Regions from separate parts of the Homo sapiens genome. Here region 2 is linked to region 1. The links are contacts of gene promoters, found by promoter capture Hi-C in blood cells and fetal thymus (Javierre and others, 2016). All regions are on one chromosome and are shown on one strand. The core of a region is centred on a gene start or on the middle of the fragment in contact, and the rest is flanking DNA. Distances in the headings are between cores, read along the strand shown.

Evidence for each region. Contacts are between HindIII fragments. The CHiCAGO score rates a contact against its expected background, and 5 or more counts as called.
Region 2: a fragment that was not itself captured here is called in contact with the fragment with the promoter of IL1B in region 1 in 1 of 17 cell types (monocytes); the score reaches 5.9 in monocytes.

The regions. Positions count from the first base shown.
Region 1 is chr2:112,833,751-112,840,839 of GRCh38, reverse strand. IL1B (interleukin 1 beta) reads left to right here and starts at 4,061. Exons shown (of 7, transcript NM_000576.3): 1 at 4,061-4,132; 2 at 4,596-4,657; 3 at 5,223-5,274. The coding sequence starts at 4,611. AMANZI (a master non-coding RNA antagonizing inflammation) reads right to left here and starts at 1,048. Exons shown (of 1, transcript NR_197592.1): 1 at 1-1,048. The HindIII fragment of the contact is 1,771 bases long and covers 3,934-5,704 here.
Region 2 is chr2:111,997,819-112,004,907 of GRCh38, reverse strand. It overlaps MERTK (MER proto-oncogene, tyrosine kinase), which reads right to left. Exons shown (of 19, transcript NM_006343.3): 11 at 3,622-3,707; 12 at 1,721-1,816; 13 at 924-1,004. Among named protein-coding and RNA genes, the nearest start is that of TMEM87B, 54 kb to the left of the region's middle. The HindIII fragment of the contact is 954 bases long and covers 2,873-3,826 here.

The DNA.
Region 1 (7,089 bases), core at 2,812-5,311:
TTACAGAAAATGTTTCCAGACCCTGGATAAGTGGTACCAGAGCCCCCTCTGTTTGTGGTCCCCTCTCTTATACCCACTAGGTGTGAGAAAAGACATAGAGTAGGAGAGCCCTGCCATCCATCTTACCCACCCAGGGGCTTTTTCTGATGGATCCAAAGGAAGGACAAGGTCTTATTGGTCTCCCAGAACTGACATAACAACTCCGACATCAGGGAAAAGCCATTGGAGACTACATAGCTCGCCAGCCCCAGCCACCTGCTCATATATCTAAGCCCTCCTTGTTCTAGACCAGGGAGGAGAATGGAATGTCCCTTGGACTCTGCATGTCCCCAATCTGAGAACCTGGATCCAAGAGGGAGAAGAAGCCCATTGGAGATGATGCCATAAAGGAAGTGGAAGCGATATGATAAAAATCATAGTGCCCATTCCCAAATAATCCCAGAAGCAGAAGGGAAAGGAGAGAAATATCCACAAAGACAGGTGTGGGTACACACAACATTTTTCATACTTTAAGATCCCAGAGGGACTCATGGAAATGATACAAGAAAATGACTCATAAGAACAAATATTAGGAAGCCAGTGCCAAGAATGAGATGGGAAATTGGGGAAAATGTTGGGGGCAGATTGCTTAGTTCTGTTCTAAGCAAGAGGGTGAACAAGGAAGGAACAGCTCACTACAAAGAACAGACATCACTGCATGTACACACAATAATATAAGAACTAACCCATGATTATTTTGCTTGTCTTCTTGTTCAAAATGATTGAAGACCAATGAGATGAGATCAACCTTGATAACTGGCTGCGAAGCCCATGATTAGACACAAGATGGTATCAGGGCACTTGCTGCTTTGAATAAATGTCAGTCTCCTGTCTTGGAAGAATGACCTGACAGGGTAAAGAGGAACTTGCAGCTGAGAAAGGCTTTAGTGACTCAAGAGCTGAATAATTCCCCAAAAGCTGGAGCATCCTGGCATTTCCAGCTCCCCATCTCTGCTTGTTCCACTTCCTTGGGGCTACATCACCATCTACATCATCATCACTCTTCCACTCCCTCCCTTAGTGCCAACTATGTTTATAGCGAGATATTTTCTGCTCATTGGGGATCGGAAGGAAGTGCTGTGGCCTGAGCGGTCTCCTTGGGAAGACAGGATCTGATACATACGTTGCACAACCTATTTGACATAAGAGGTTTCACTTCCTGAGATGGATGGGATGGTAGCAGATTTGGGTCCAGGTTACAGGGCCAGGATGAGACATGGCAGAACTGTGGAGACTGTTACGTCAGGGGGCATTGCCCCATGGCTCCAAAATTTCCCTCGAGCGAAAGCATCAGGGGCTCATGCAACCTGGATACTAGTGCTGCTTCAACCACACTGTGCTATTGGATGAGTCACTTCCACCCTCCTAGCCTTGATTTCTTCGTCTGCTGTTCACATTCAAATAGCTATTCATGTCTTCATCTCTGTGGTCCCACCATATCCCACCAGACAATCATTAGGGCTCCTCTTAGCTGGCAGATTCTGAGGTCCTGGATGCTACAATTGGAAGATGGAGAAGTAGAAGCTCAAGGTTTCTGACCTGTATCCCAAGTCCCAGAAGCAGAATGGACTAACTCAGAGCTGATGCTCGGGTCCCTTGCATATCTCCCTTCCTGTCACTGGCTTTGATCCTCCTTCGTTCAGCTTGTAATCACATCAACAGACCAAAGACATCTCTGTGTTCTGTCAGGAGAGTTCACAGAGCCACCAACCCTCCAGACCCTGCTGGTTGCCGCATAAAGACTCTGAGGAAGGGTTTGAGGCTGCTGTGATCATGCAATGAATGCATGATTGTACCACTGCACTCCAGCCTGGGGGATAAAGGTAGATCCTGTCTAGGAGAGAGAGAGAGAGAAAGAGAAAGAGAGAGAGAAGGGAGGGAGAGACAAAGAAAAAGAGAGAGAGGGAGGGAGAAAGAAAGAGAGAAAGAAAAGAGAAAAGAAAGAAAAAGAAAGAAAGAGAGAGAGGGAGGGAGGGAGAGAGAAAGAAAGAAAGAAAGAGAAAGAGAGAAAGAGAGAAAGAGAAAGAAAGGAAGAAAGAAAGAAAGAAAGAAAGAAAGAAAGAAAGAAAGAAAGAAAAGAAAAGAAAGAAAGAGAGAGAGAAAGAAAAAGAAAGAGGAAGGAAGGAAGGAAGGAAGAAAGACAGGCTCTGAGGAAGGTGGCAGTTCCTACAACGGGAGAACCAGTGGTTAATTTGCAAAGTGGATCCTGTGGAGGCAAAACAGAGGAGTCCCCTAGGCCACCCAGACAGGGCTTTTAGCTATCTGCAGGACCAGACACCAAATTTCAGGAGGGCTCAGTGTTAGGAATGGATTATGGCTTATCAAATTCACAGGAAACTAACATGTTGAACAGCTTTTAGATTTCCTGTGGAAAATATAACTTACTAAAGATGGAGTTCTTGTGACTGACTCCTGATATCAAGATACTGGGAGCCAAATTAAAAATCAGAAGGCTGCTTGGAGAGCAAGTCCATGAAATGCTCTTTTTCCCACAGTAGAACCTATTTCCCTCGTGTCTCAAATACTTGCACAGAGGCTCACTCCCTTGGATAATGCAGAGCGAGCACGATACCTGGCACATACTAATTTGAATAAAAATGCTGTCAAATTCCCATTCACCCATTCAAGCAGCAAACTCTACCACCTGAATGTACATGCCAGGCACTGTGCTAGACTTGGCTCAAAAAGATTTCAGTTTCCTGGAGGAACCAGGAGGAGCAAGGTTTCAACTCAGTGCTATAAGAAGTGTTACAGGCTGGACACGGTGGCTCACGCCTGTAATCCCAACACTTTGGGAGGCCGAGGCGGGCAGATCACAAGGTCAGGAGATCGAGACCATCCTGGCTAACATGGTGAAACCCTGTCTCTACTAAAAATACAAAAAATTAGCCGGGCGTGGCGGCAGGTGCCTGTAGTCCCAGCTGCTGGGGAGGCTGAGGCAGGAGAATGGTGTGAACCCGGGAGGCGGAACTTGCAGGGGGCCGAGATCGTGCCACTGCACTCCAGCCTGGGCGACAGAGTGAGACTCTGTCTCAAAAAAAAAAAAAAAGTGTTATGATGCAGACCTGTCAAAGAGGCAAAGGAGGGTGTTCCTACACTCCAGGCACTGTTCATAACCTGGACTCTCATTCATTCTACAAATGGAGGGCTCCCCTGGGCAGTACCCTGGAGCAGGCACTTTGCTGGTGTCTCGGTTAAAGAGAAACTGATAACTCTTGGTTGGTATTACCAAGAGATAGAGTCTCAGATGGATATTCTTACAGAAACAATATTCCACTTTTCAGAGTTCACCAAAAAATCATTTTAGGCAGAGCTCATCTGGCATTGATCTGGTTCATCCATGAGATTGGCTAGGGTAACAGCACCTGGTCTTGCAGGGTTGTGTGAGCTTATCTCCAGGGTTGCCCCAACTCCGTCAGGAGCCTGAACCCTGCATACCGTATGTTCTCTGCCCCAGCCAAGAAAGGTCAATTTTCTCCTCAGAGGCTCCTGCAATTGACAGAGAGCTCCTGAGGCAGAGAACAGCACCCAAGGTAGAGACCCACACCCTCAATACAGACAGGGAGGGCTATTGGCCCTTCATTGTACCCATTTATCCATCTGTAAGTGGGAAGATTCCTAAACTTAAGTACAAAGAAGTGAATGAAGAAAAGTATGTGCATGTATAAATCTGTGTGTCTTCCACTTTGTCCCACATATACTAAATTTAAACATTCTTCTAACGTGGGAAAATCCAGTATTTTAATGTGGACATCAACTGCACAACGATTGTCAGGAAAACAATGCATATTTGCATGGTGATACATTTGCAAAATGTGTCATAGTTTGCTACTCCTTGCCCTTCCATGAACCAGAGAATTATCTCAGTTTATTAGTCCCCTCCCCTAAGAAGCTTCCACCAATACTCTTTTCCCCTTTCCTTTAACTTGATTGTGAAATCAGGTATTCAACAGAGAAATTTCTCAGCCTCCTACTTCTGCTTTTGAAAGCCATAAAAACAGCGAGGGAGAAACTGGCAGATACCAAACCTCTTCGAGGCACAAGGCACAACAGGCTGCTCTGGGATTCTCTTCAGCCAATCTTCATTGCTCAAGTATGACTTTAATCTTCCTTACAACTAGGTGCTAAGGGAGTCTCTCTGTCTCTCTGCCTCTTTGTGTGTATGCATATTCTCTCTCTCTCTCTCTTTCTTTCTCTGTCTCTCCCTCTCCTTCCCTCTCTGCCTCCCTCTCTCAGCTTTTTGCAAAAATGCCAGGTGTAATATAATGCTTATGACTCGGGAAATATTCTGGGAATGGATACTGCTTATCTAACAGCTGACACCCTAAAGGTTAGTGTCAAAGCCTCTGCTCCAGCTCTCCTAGCCAATACATTGCTAGTTGGGGTTTGGTTTAGCAAATGCTTTTCTCTAGACCCAAAGGACTTCTCTTTCACACATTCATTCATTTACTCAGAGATCATTTCTTTGCATGACTGCCATGCACTGGATGCTGAGAGAAATCACACATGAACGTAGCCGTCATGGGGAAGTCACTCATTTTCTCCTTTTTACACAGGTGTCTGAAGCAGCCATGGCAGAAGTACCTGAGCTCGCCAGTGAAATGATGGCTTATTACAGGTCAGTGGAGACGCTGAGACCAGTAACATGAGCAGGTCTCCTCTTTCAAGAGTAGAGTGTTATCTGTGCTTGGAGACCAGATTTTTCCCCTAAATTGCCTCTTTCAGTGGCAAACAGGGTGCCAAGTAAATCTGATTTAAAGACTACTTTCCCATTACAAGTCCCTCCAGCCTTGGGACCTGGAGGCTATCCAGATGTGTTGTTGCAAGGGCTTCCTGCAGAGGCAAATGGGGAGAAAAGACTCCAAGCCCACAATACAAGGAATCCCTTTGCAAAGTGTGGCTTGGAGGGAGAGGGAGAGCTCAGATTTTAGCTGACTCTGCTGGGCTAGAGGTTAGGCCTCAAGATCCAACAGGGAGCACCCAGGGTGCCCACCTGCCAGGCCTAGAATCTGCCTTCTGGACTGTTCTGCGCATATCACTGTGAAACTTGCCAGGTGTTTCAGGCAGCTTTGAGAGGCAGGCTGTTTGCAGTTTCTTATGAACAGTCAAGTCTTGTACACAGGGAAGGAAAAATAAACCTGTTTAGAAGACATAATTGAGACATGTCCCTGTTTTTATTACAGTGGCAATGAGGATGACTTGTTCTTTGAAGCTGATGGCCCTAAACAGATGAAGGTAAGACTATGGGTTTAACTCCCAACCCAAGGAAGGGCTCTAACACAGGGAAAGCTCAAAGAAGGGAGTTCTGGGCCACTTTGATGCCATGGTATTTTGTTTTAGAAAGACTTTAACCTCTTCCAGTGAGACACAGGCTGCACCACTTGCTGACCTGGCCACTTGGTCATCATATCACCACAGTCACTCACTAACGTTGGTGGTGGTGGCCACACTTGGTGGTGACAGGGGAGGAGTAGTGATAATGTTTCCCATTTCATAGTAGGAAGACAACCAAGTCTTCAACATAAATTTGATTATCCTTTTAAGAGATGGATTCAGCCTATGCCAATCACTTGAGTTAAACTCTGAAACCAAGAGATGATCTTGAGAACTAACATATGTCTACCCCTTTTGAGTAGAATAGTTTTTTGCTACCTGGGGTGAAGCTTATAACAACAAGACATAGATGATATAAACAAAAAGATGAATTGAGACTTGAAAGAAAACCATTCACTTGCTGTTTGACCTTGACAAGTCATTTTACCCGCTTTGGACCTCATCTGAAAAATAAAGGGCTGAGCTGGATGATCTCTGAGATTCCAGCATCCTGCAACCTCCAGTTCTGAAATATTTTCAGTTGTAGCTAAGGGCATTTGGGCAGCAAATGGTCATTTTTCAGACTCATCCTTACAAAGAGCCATGTTATATTCCTGCTGTCCCTTCTGTTTTATATGATGCTCAGTAGCCTTCCTAGGTGGCCCAGCCATCAGCCTAGCTAGGTCAGTTGTGCAGGTTGGGAGGCAGCCACTTTTCTCTGGCTTTATTTTATTCCAGTTTGTGATAGCCTCCCCTAGCCTCATAATCCAGTCCTCAATCTTGTTAAAAACATATTTCTTTAGAAGTTTTAAGACTGGCATAACTTGTTGGCTGCAGCTGTGGGAGGAGCCCATTGGCTTGTCTGCCTGGCCTTTGCCCCCATTGCCTCTTCCAGCAGCTTGGCTCTGCTCCAGGCAGGAAATTCTCTCCTGCTCAACTTTCTTTTGTGCACTTACAGGTCTCTTTAACTGTCTTTCAAGCCTTTGAACCATTATCATGCCTTAAGGCAACCTCAGTGAAGCCTTAATACGGAGCTTCTCTGAATAAGAGGAAAGTGGTAACATTTCACAAAAAGTACTCTCACAGGATTTGCAGAATGCCTATGAGACAGTGTTATGAAAAAGGAAAAAAAAGAACAGTGTAGAAAAATTGAATACTTGCTGAGTGAGCATAGGTGAATGGAAAATGTTATGGTCATCTGCATGAAAAAGCAAATCATAGTGTGACAGCATTAGGGATACAAAAAGATATAGAGAAGGTATACATGTATGGTGTAGGTGGGGCATGTACAAAAAAGATGAACAAAGTAGAAATGGGATTTATTCTAAAAGAATAGCCTGTAAGGTGTCAGAAAGCCCACATTCTAGTCTTGAGTCTGCCTCTAACCTGCTGTGTGCCCTTGAGTACACACTTAACCTCCTTGAGCTTCAGAGAGGGATAATCTTTTTATTTTATTTTATTTTATTTTGTTTTGTTTTGTTTTGTTTTGTTTTATGAGACAGAGTCTCACTCTGTTGCCCAGGCTGGAGTGCAGTGGTACAATCTTGGCTTACTGCATCCTCCACCTCCTGAGTTCAAGCGATTCTCCTTCCTCAGTCTCCTGAATAGCTAGGATTACAGGTGCACCCCACCACACCCAGCTAATTTTTGTATTTTTAGTAGAGAAGGGGTTTCGCCATGTTGGCCAGGCTGGTTTTGAAGTCCTGACCTAAATGATTCATCCACCTCGGCTTCCCA
Region 2 (7,089 bases), core at 2,100-4,599, 840 kb after region 1:
TTTTTTGAGACGGAGTCTCACTCTGTCACCCAGGCTGGAATGCAGTGGTGTGATCTCGGCTCAATGCAACTTCCGCCTCCCGAGTTCAAGTGATTCTCCTGCCTCAGTCACCTGGGATTACAGGTGTGTGTCACCACGCCCGGCTAATTTTTGTATTTTTAGTGGAGACGGGGTTTCACCAAGTTGGTCAGGCTGGTCTCAAACTCCTGACCTTGTGATCTGCCCGCCTCAGCCTCCCAAAGTGCTGGGATTCCAGGCGTGAGCCACCGTGCCCGGCTGGTTAAGCCTCTTAATAGCGCTCTACTCCTTGCAGGATAAAGCAGGTTCTTGGCTGTGACTTACAAGACTCTCCCTGTCTCACTGCTGGCTCTCTTCCCAGCTTGCTTGGAAGTTCTAGCTTATGATAGCAACTCTTCATATGCCTTGACCAAATATTTCTCCTCTTTCTGGGGAACTTACTTGCCAGGCAGCCCGCAGCTTCCTCAGGGCCATGCAATCATCCTCAAATGAGGAAGTGGCCCCACCACACTAGACAGGCCGGCCAGAACAACCCCTGGGGTCAGATGTTGCTATTAGATCACCCCTGCCTCAGCAATTGATGCTCTACTTTGGAGTTGTTAGCTCTACTAGATGAGAGTGAGAGAAAGAGAGACAGTGAGAGAAGGAGAGAGAGCAAGACAGACAGTATGTATGCATAGGCATGCAGGAGTTAGTAAAAATAAAAAATGTTATTGCCTTGAGTATAAAGAATATGTAATGCATGCATGAAGAGCTCATTAAAGTAAGTCCCCCTTGGTGACCAGTGTTCCACATTGCCTTCTGGCCCACTGGGAACTGAGATTGTGACATATGGCCTCATGGAGCACCCAATACTGAAGCAACTGCCCACCCTAGAAGAATGGGATTCATCACTGATAACTCACACTTCATGGTCTTCACTGCCACTTTCAGAGAGGTCCCATCTTCCTGCTTAAGATTTCCTTCCATTACAGACCCAAACTCTCCTGTGAAGTGAAAGAACACCTGTATGGACACTGTGCAAACTCTTCCCTGACCACAGAAATGCTACAGTGCCAGAGCTGCTGGTTTCATGTGGTATGAGAGCAACTCACCCACGGGCAGCCAGGCAGAGCCTGCCCAGGCCACCCACATCGCAAACCAGGGTGATGCGCCACGCTCTAGTCTCCTGCTTGTCACGAGCTTGGGTGGCTTGGGCCTACCTTTGCTCATCACTTTATTAAGCATTATAACCAATCCAAGACACTTAGAAGAGAACATGAAAAATATTATTGAAGTTTTTAAAGCACAAACTTTTAATACCATTATCATTCATCCTAAGAACAACTTAACAAGTTAAATACGTATTTTCATTTTTGTTCCTAATTAGAAAGGTGCCAAGAACAATGAACTTAAGAACTAGAGGAATAAACTTAAAGTACATAGGAAACTACTCAATGAATTACATGCTTTTCAATGAAGAAAGAAAATTAATATTTTTCAAGGACCTGTATGTGCTAGGCATTGAAGAGAATCTTTTCATGTGCCAGATCTGAGTTTCAAAAATCAATAGTCTATCATTTTAAATAATAAAATATAACTATCCATAGTATAACTCAGAGTCCTGAGATGCTATTTTATTTAATAAATATATGTTAAAGAATTATTCTAAACTGCTACCTTCTTATCCCACATTTTAAAAGAATTACTTTAAATTGCTTACCTTCACCCAGAATTTTTCCAAGAATTAGAAGATTCCTGTCAATCACAACATCTTCTAGTTTATTTTGTAGTTCCTCACTGACTCCCAAGCTATGTACTGAAAAAGGAGTAACATAGTATGTACAAAAATTGTCAGCGTGTTTTCTTTCACTTGATAATTAAAATGAAATAAAGTCCTGTATAATAAAACATTCCTTATTTATTTATTTATTTATTGAGCCAGAGTCTAGCTCTGTTGCCCAGGCTGGAGTGCAATGGTGCAACCTTGGCTCACTGCAACCTCTGCCTCCTGGGTTCAAGCGATTCTTGTGCCTCAGCCTCCCAAGTAGCTGGGACTGCAGGCATGCACCACCACACCCAGCTAATTTATGTATTTTCAGTAGAGACGGGTTTTATCATCTGGGCCAGGCTGGTCTCGAACTCCTGACCTCAAGTGATCTACCCACCTCGGCCTCCCAAAGTGCTGGGATTACAGGTGTGAACCACCATAGCCGGCCCCTTTTTTCATTTTGTATCTATTATTTCTCTCCCAAAAATGCCAGTAATAAAATTTCATACTTTAGAATGATTAAACTAAGTATAATGAATCCTTCAGGGCAAGGTTAATTCTGAAGAATTACAAAAATCAGAACCACATTTCTCATTCTGTTGTGTGGTAGCAGCAGCCGGTAATCAGATTCATGTAGGGGTGGTTTGCCTTTGACTTAAAGGGGTAAGGAAGATAAGTCAATAGGTAATTTCTGGTGAATTCTTTACTATTAATATTATACCCTTGACTACAGTATACAAAAGAACCACACGTCCCCTACCCTCCCATGCCATGGACGGAGTCTCACAAACCACAGGAAACATCTAGAGAATAAGCTCTTATTTTACATACTGTATATGAAACCTATTATAACAGCATAGCAAGGGCTAAATTGAGCACTTTGAGGAATTGGAGAAAAAGATTTTTCTATAATAAAATATATAATATAGTAAGGTATATAATAGATGAGTCATGTTGGCAACAAGAGAAATTAACCAGAAGGGGACCAGTTCAACAACTCTTGGCAAATGATTCAGTCTGGACCACAGTTAAGGCATGAACAAGCTCTTGAAAGATCAAAAAAATGTGGATAATTAGGACACATTAGTTCTCAGAGAAAAAGCTTTATCCAGTGGTTCTCCAATAAAGGAAAGAAAGTGGTCTAAATGACAAATTTTAAAATTTTAAATTAAAAAAAAAATTGAGGATATCTAAAAGTCAAAACTTACAGACTAGAAAGGTAAAGAAATTAATAATATTCTACACCAAGCAAGTTTCTATTTCATAGCAACCTGTATTCTGTCATTCTTATCTATTTTCTTTATTGGGGGCAAACATCCAGAAGCATGAATTTGTTAATATTTGCATGTCCTTTCTATACTTTTTCTGAAATTATTCAGGAACACTAGTGTCTGTTTATTTCCGCTGTTTAAACCAGAAGCCCCCACTCTCTGATTCAGCAAAGCTCAAACCATAATTACTATAAAGCATGTTGGCAAATCATCCTCGGAGTTGGTTGCCAGGAAAACAGGAAATGAGGCTTGAGATTATGTTCACTAGTTAGAAGTTTTCTTTAAATCCCTGGCCTCTACCCATCTTCTGTCACCCTAGAAGGTTCCTCTTTTCTGCCACATTTCATGACATTGTGAGTCCTTTTAACCCCAGGTCAAGCTCCTGATTGCAGTAAATTAGCCCACAGAGCTGTGCATGGCAATGTCTGGCTATCTACTTGCTGCTTTTAAAGACATTTTGTACATTAAAAATATCCATTCTTCTTCGACATCTTTGGCTTTTGTTAGAAATCTGTCTATTGATCCTTCTTTGTTCTCAACTATTTTAACTTTTGCCAAAAAGGGAAATGAAAGTCAACTTACAGGTAAGTTCAATGGCTCGCCGACAGAAGGATTTCTTTGCTATATAATTCACCACTAATTCAGAATCCTCCTCTGTGAATGCATTCCTGGGTGAATGAAAACAAAGATACTTCACTATAAAAACAGGGCTACTGGGGCAGGCACTGATTCCACAAGGATGCTACAGAGCTTCCGCTTTTCAATGGGCTCTTCTACAACAAAAGCTTTCCCCCTAGAAGAAACGTGTTTCTTTCCTTTGATTTATTTTAGACTTACTTGGCAATATTGAAACTACTCTAGCCAGGTACCGCCAAGAACAGAGAATAACAGATAAGCTCCCAGTGGCCAAAGCTGTAACAGTCTGAGCAAGAAACTAAAGTAATACTAGACTATGAGTATAAAATGAATATCCATAAGTCTATACTTATGAAAATATGATTGAATGAATGAATGGAAGAAAAGACACCAATCTCCTGTGGTGAAGAATTCCAAATATTTTATGTAGCTAGTAAGGGGTGGAGGGAGTTAAACCCTCATGCTGTCAATATGGGCTATGCATAGTGACTTGCTTCCAAAGAACAGTAGGGAAAGGGAGAAAAAATAACTTCATGGTAGAGAAACCCAGCAAATACTACTTCAGCCAGGTGATCAATGTCAACATCAACAGTGATACATCATGTTAATATGCACCCTTGATAAGAAGTGATGACAATGGCATTTTAATTCTGTGCTCCTCCTCTCAATCACCCATAACCCCTGCTCATTATCAGCAAAACATCGAACACATTGCAATAGAGGGGCATCCTACAAAACACCCGACTAACACTTCTGAAAACTGGCAAGATCATCAAAGACAAGGAAGGTCTAAGAAATGGCCACAGCCAAGAGGAGCCTAAGGAGATGTGATGACTGACTGTAAAATGTGGCATCCTGGAAGGGATCCCAGAACACTAAAGGGACATTAGGTGAAAATTAAGGAAATCTCAAGAAAGTAGAGATGTTAGTTAATGACAATGGATCAATATTGGCTCATTAACTGTAACAAATGTATTGTACTAATTGTCAGGACCCTGAGCCCAAGCTAAGCCATCATATCCCCTGTGACCTGCACGTATACACCCAGATGGCCTGAAGCAACCGAAGATCCACAAAAGAAGTGAAAATAGCCAGTTCCTGCCTTACCTGATGACATTCCACCATTGTGATTTGTTCCTGCCCCACCCTAACTGATCAATTGACTTTGTGACAATACACCCTCCCTGCCCTTGGGATAATGTACTTTGTGGTATTCCCCCACCCTTGCGAATGTACTTTGTATGATACACCCTCCCTACCCTTGAGAAGGTACTTTGTAATATTCTCCCGGGCCCTTGAGAATGTACTTTGCAAGATCCACCCCCTGCTTACAAAAAATTGGTCCTCCAGTGGATATTGGATATTGGATAACTCCACTGCCTATACCAAACCTGTAAGAACTAATGATAATTCCACCATCCTTTGCTGACTCCTTTTTCGGACTCAGCCCACCTGCACCCGGGTGATTAAAAAGCTTTACTGCTCACACAAAACCTGTTGGTGGTCTCTTCACATGGACACGTGTGACACTAATAATGTAAGCTGTTAATAATAGGGGAAACTAGGTATGGAGCATATGAGAAATCTCTGTACTATCTTCTCAATGTTTCTGTAAAATTAAAACTGTTCTAAAAAATAAGGCTGGGATTCATGCCTGTAATCCCAGCACTTTGGGAAGCTGAGGCAGGAGGATCACTTGAGCCCAGGAGTTCAAGACCAGCGAGGGAAACAAAGTGAGATGCCTCATCTCTATAAAAAGTAAGAAAATTAGCCAGACATGGTGGTATGTGACTGTGGTCCCAGCTAATCGGGAGGCTGAGATGGGAGGATCACTTGGGTTCTGGAGGACAAGGCTGCAGTGAGCCATGAATGCACCACTGCACTCCAGCCTGGACGACAGAGCAAGATCCTGTCTCAAAAAAATAAATTAATTTTAAAAATAAAAAATGAAGTCTATTTTAATAATCCATTTAGTCACTGTTTTAGACTAATTGGTGGGAAAGTATTATGAATTTGAAAGTCTAGATTACAGATTTAATCTCAAGTTACCTTAGGTACATAGATTATTTTAAAGAGATAACACAATTTTGAAAAAAATACTGATGTACACAAAGCAAAGCACTTGGAAAGACGTATGCCAAAATAGCAACCAACACCATCTATGGGCCTGAAATGGGCCTCACTTTCTCCTTTTGACTATTCGATATAATCTGATTTTTAAAAAAATATAATGTTACTTTTATAAGTAAAAATAAAAGTATTTTCATTTAAAAATGAGCTGGAAAGTGGTTTTACAAAAGGAACAAATGAATAGATCTTGTAGTAAGGATCCATGGGAACTGACTTCGACATAGATAACAATAACCTGTTACAAGTCTTTCATTTGTTTTAAGCTTCTGCTGAGTTTAATGGTTCCTGGAAATAGTTTTATTTCTAAATATTTGAAATAGTATTGTAATCTTGTTAATATATTTGCTGTACTCAGCAGCCCCACTTTTTGGTAATGTGGCATGTGCTGCTCCTTCTGGCTGTAATGCTCTTCTTCTCTCTCATCTAATGAATACCTGCTCTTTCTTCAGATCTTAGCTCTGGTGTCAGCCACTTCTGCACAAAGGCCTTCCCTGACTTTCTTAATGCAGCCAAATTTTTCTGACACATTCTTACCCCTTTATATAGAATGTATTACAGTTGCCATTTTTAATCTATTTTGTGACTGCTTGACTACTGCCTGACTCCCCATGAACTGTGAACCCCATGAGGGCAGGATTTTGTTCACCACTGTATTCCAGGCTACCGCAGTGCCCAGTGCCTAGCAGGCCTTTAATACATATTAATGAGCTACTCTTGCAGCTTCTGCAGAGGTTCTCTGTACTTGTTTTATGATGAACCCACATGTCACACCAAGATCCTGGGATGTATTTTAGTCAATTATATGTTCAAGATTTAGATCAGATTTTGTCCACTTCTTTAAAATAGTCATTCTTAGAATTCACATACTAAGGTATAACAATTGTAAGAATAGGCTTATAAAGACTAAAGTAACTGACCCCTAAGACTGGGATGAACACAAATAAAGCGTAGCCTGGCTGCCAATCTTAAGCCCTTCCCACGCCTATGGCAAGTCTTGGAGCGAGTGGGATGTTCTAGTAGCATTCTGAAGGTGGAGCAATGAAAGAGGGAGGCTCAGCCCCCTCCAAAGTATAGCCATACACCCCTCACTCATTCTGTCCCACTCCAACCTGCCAACAACCCTCCTGGGTTCAAGCAATTCCTGTGCCTCAGCCTCTAAAGTAGCTGGGATTACAGGCGTGTGCCATCATGCCCAGCTAATTTTTGTATTTTCTGTAGAGATGACATTTTGCCATGGTGGCCAGGCTGGTCTCAAACTCCTGACCTCAAGTGATCCGCCTGCCT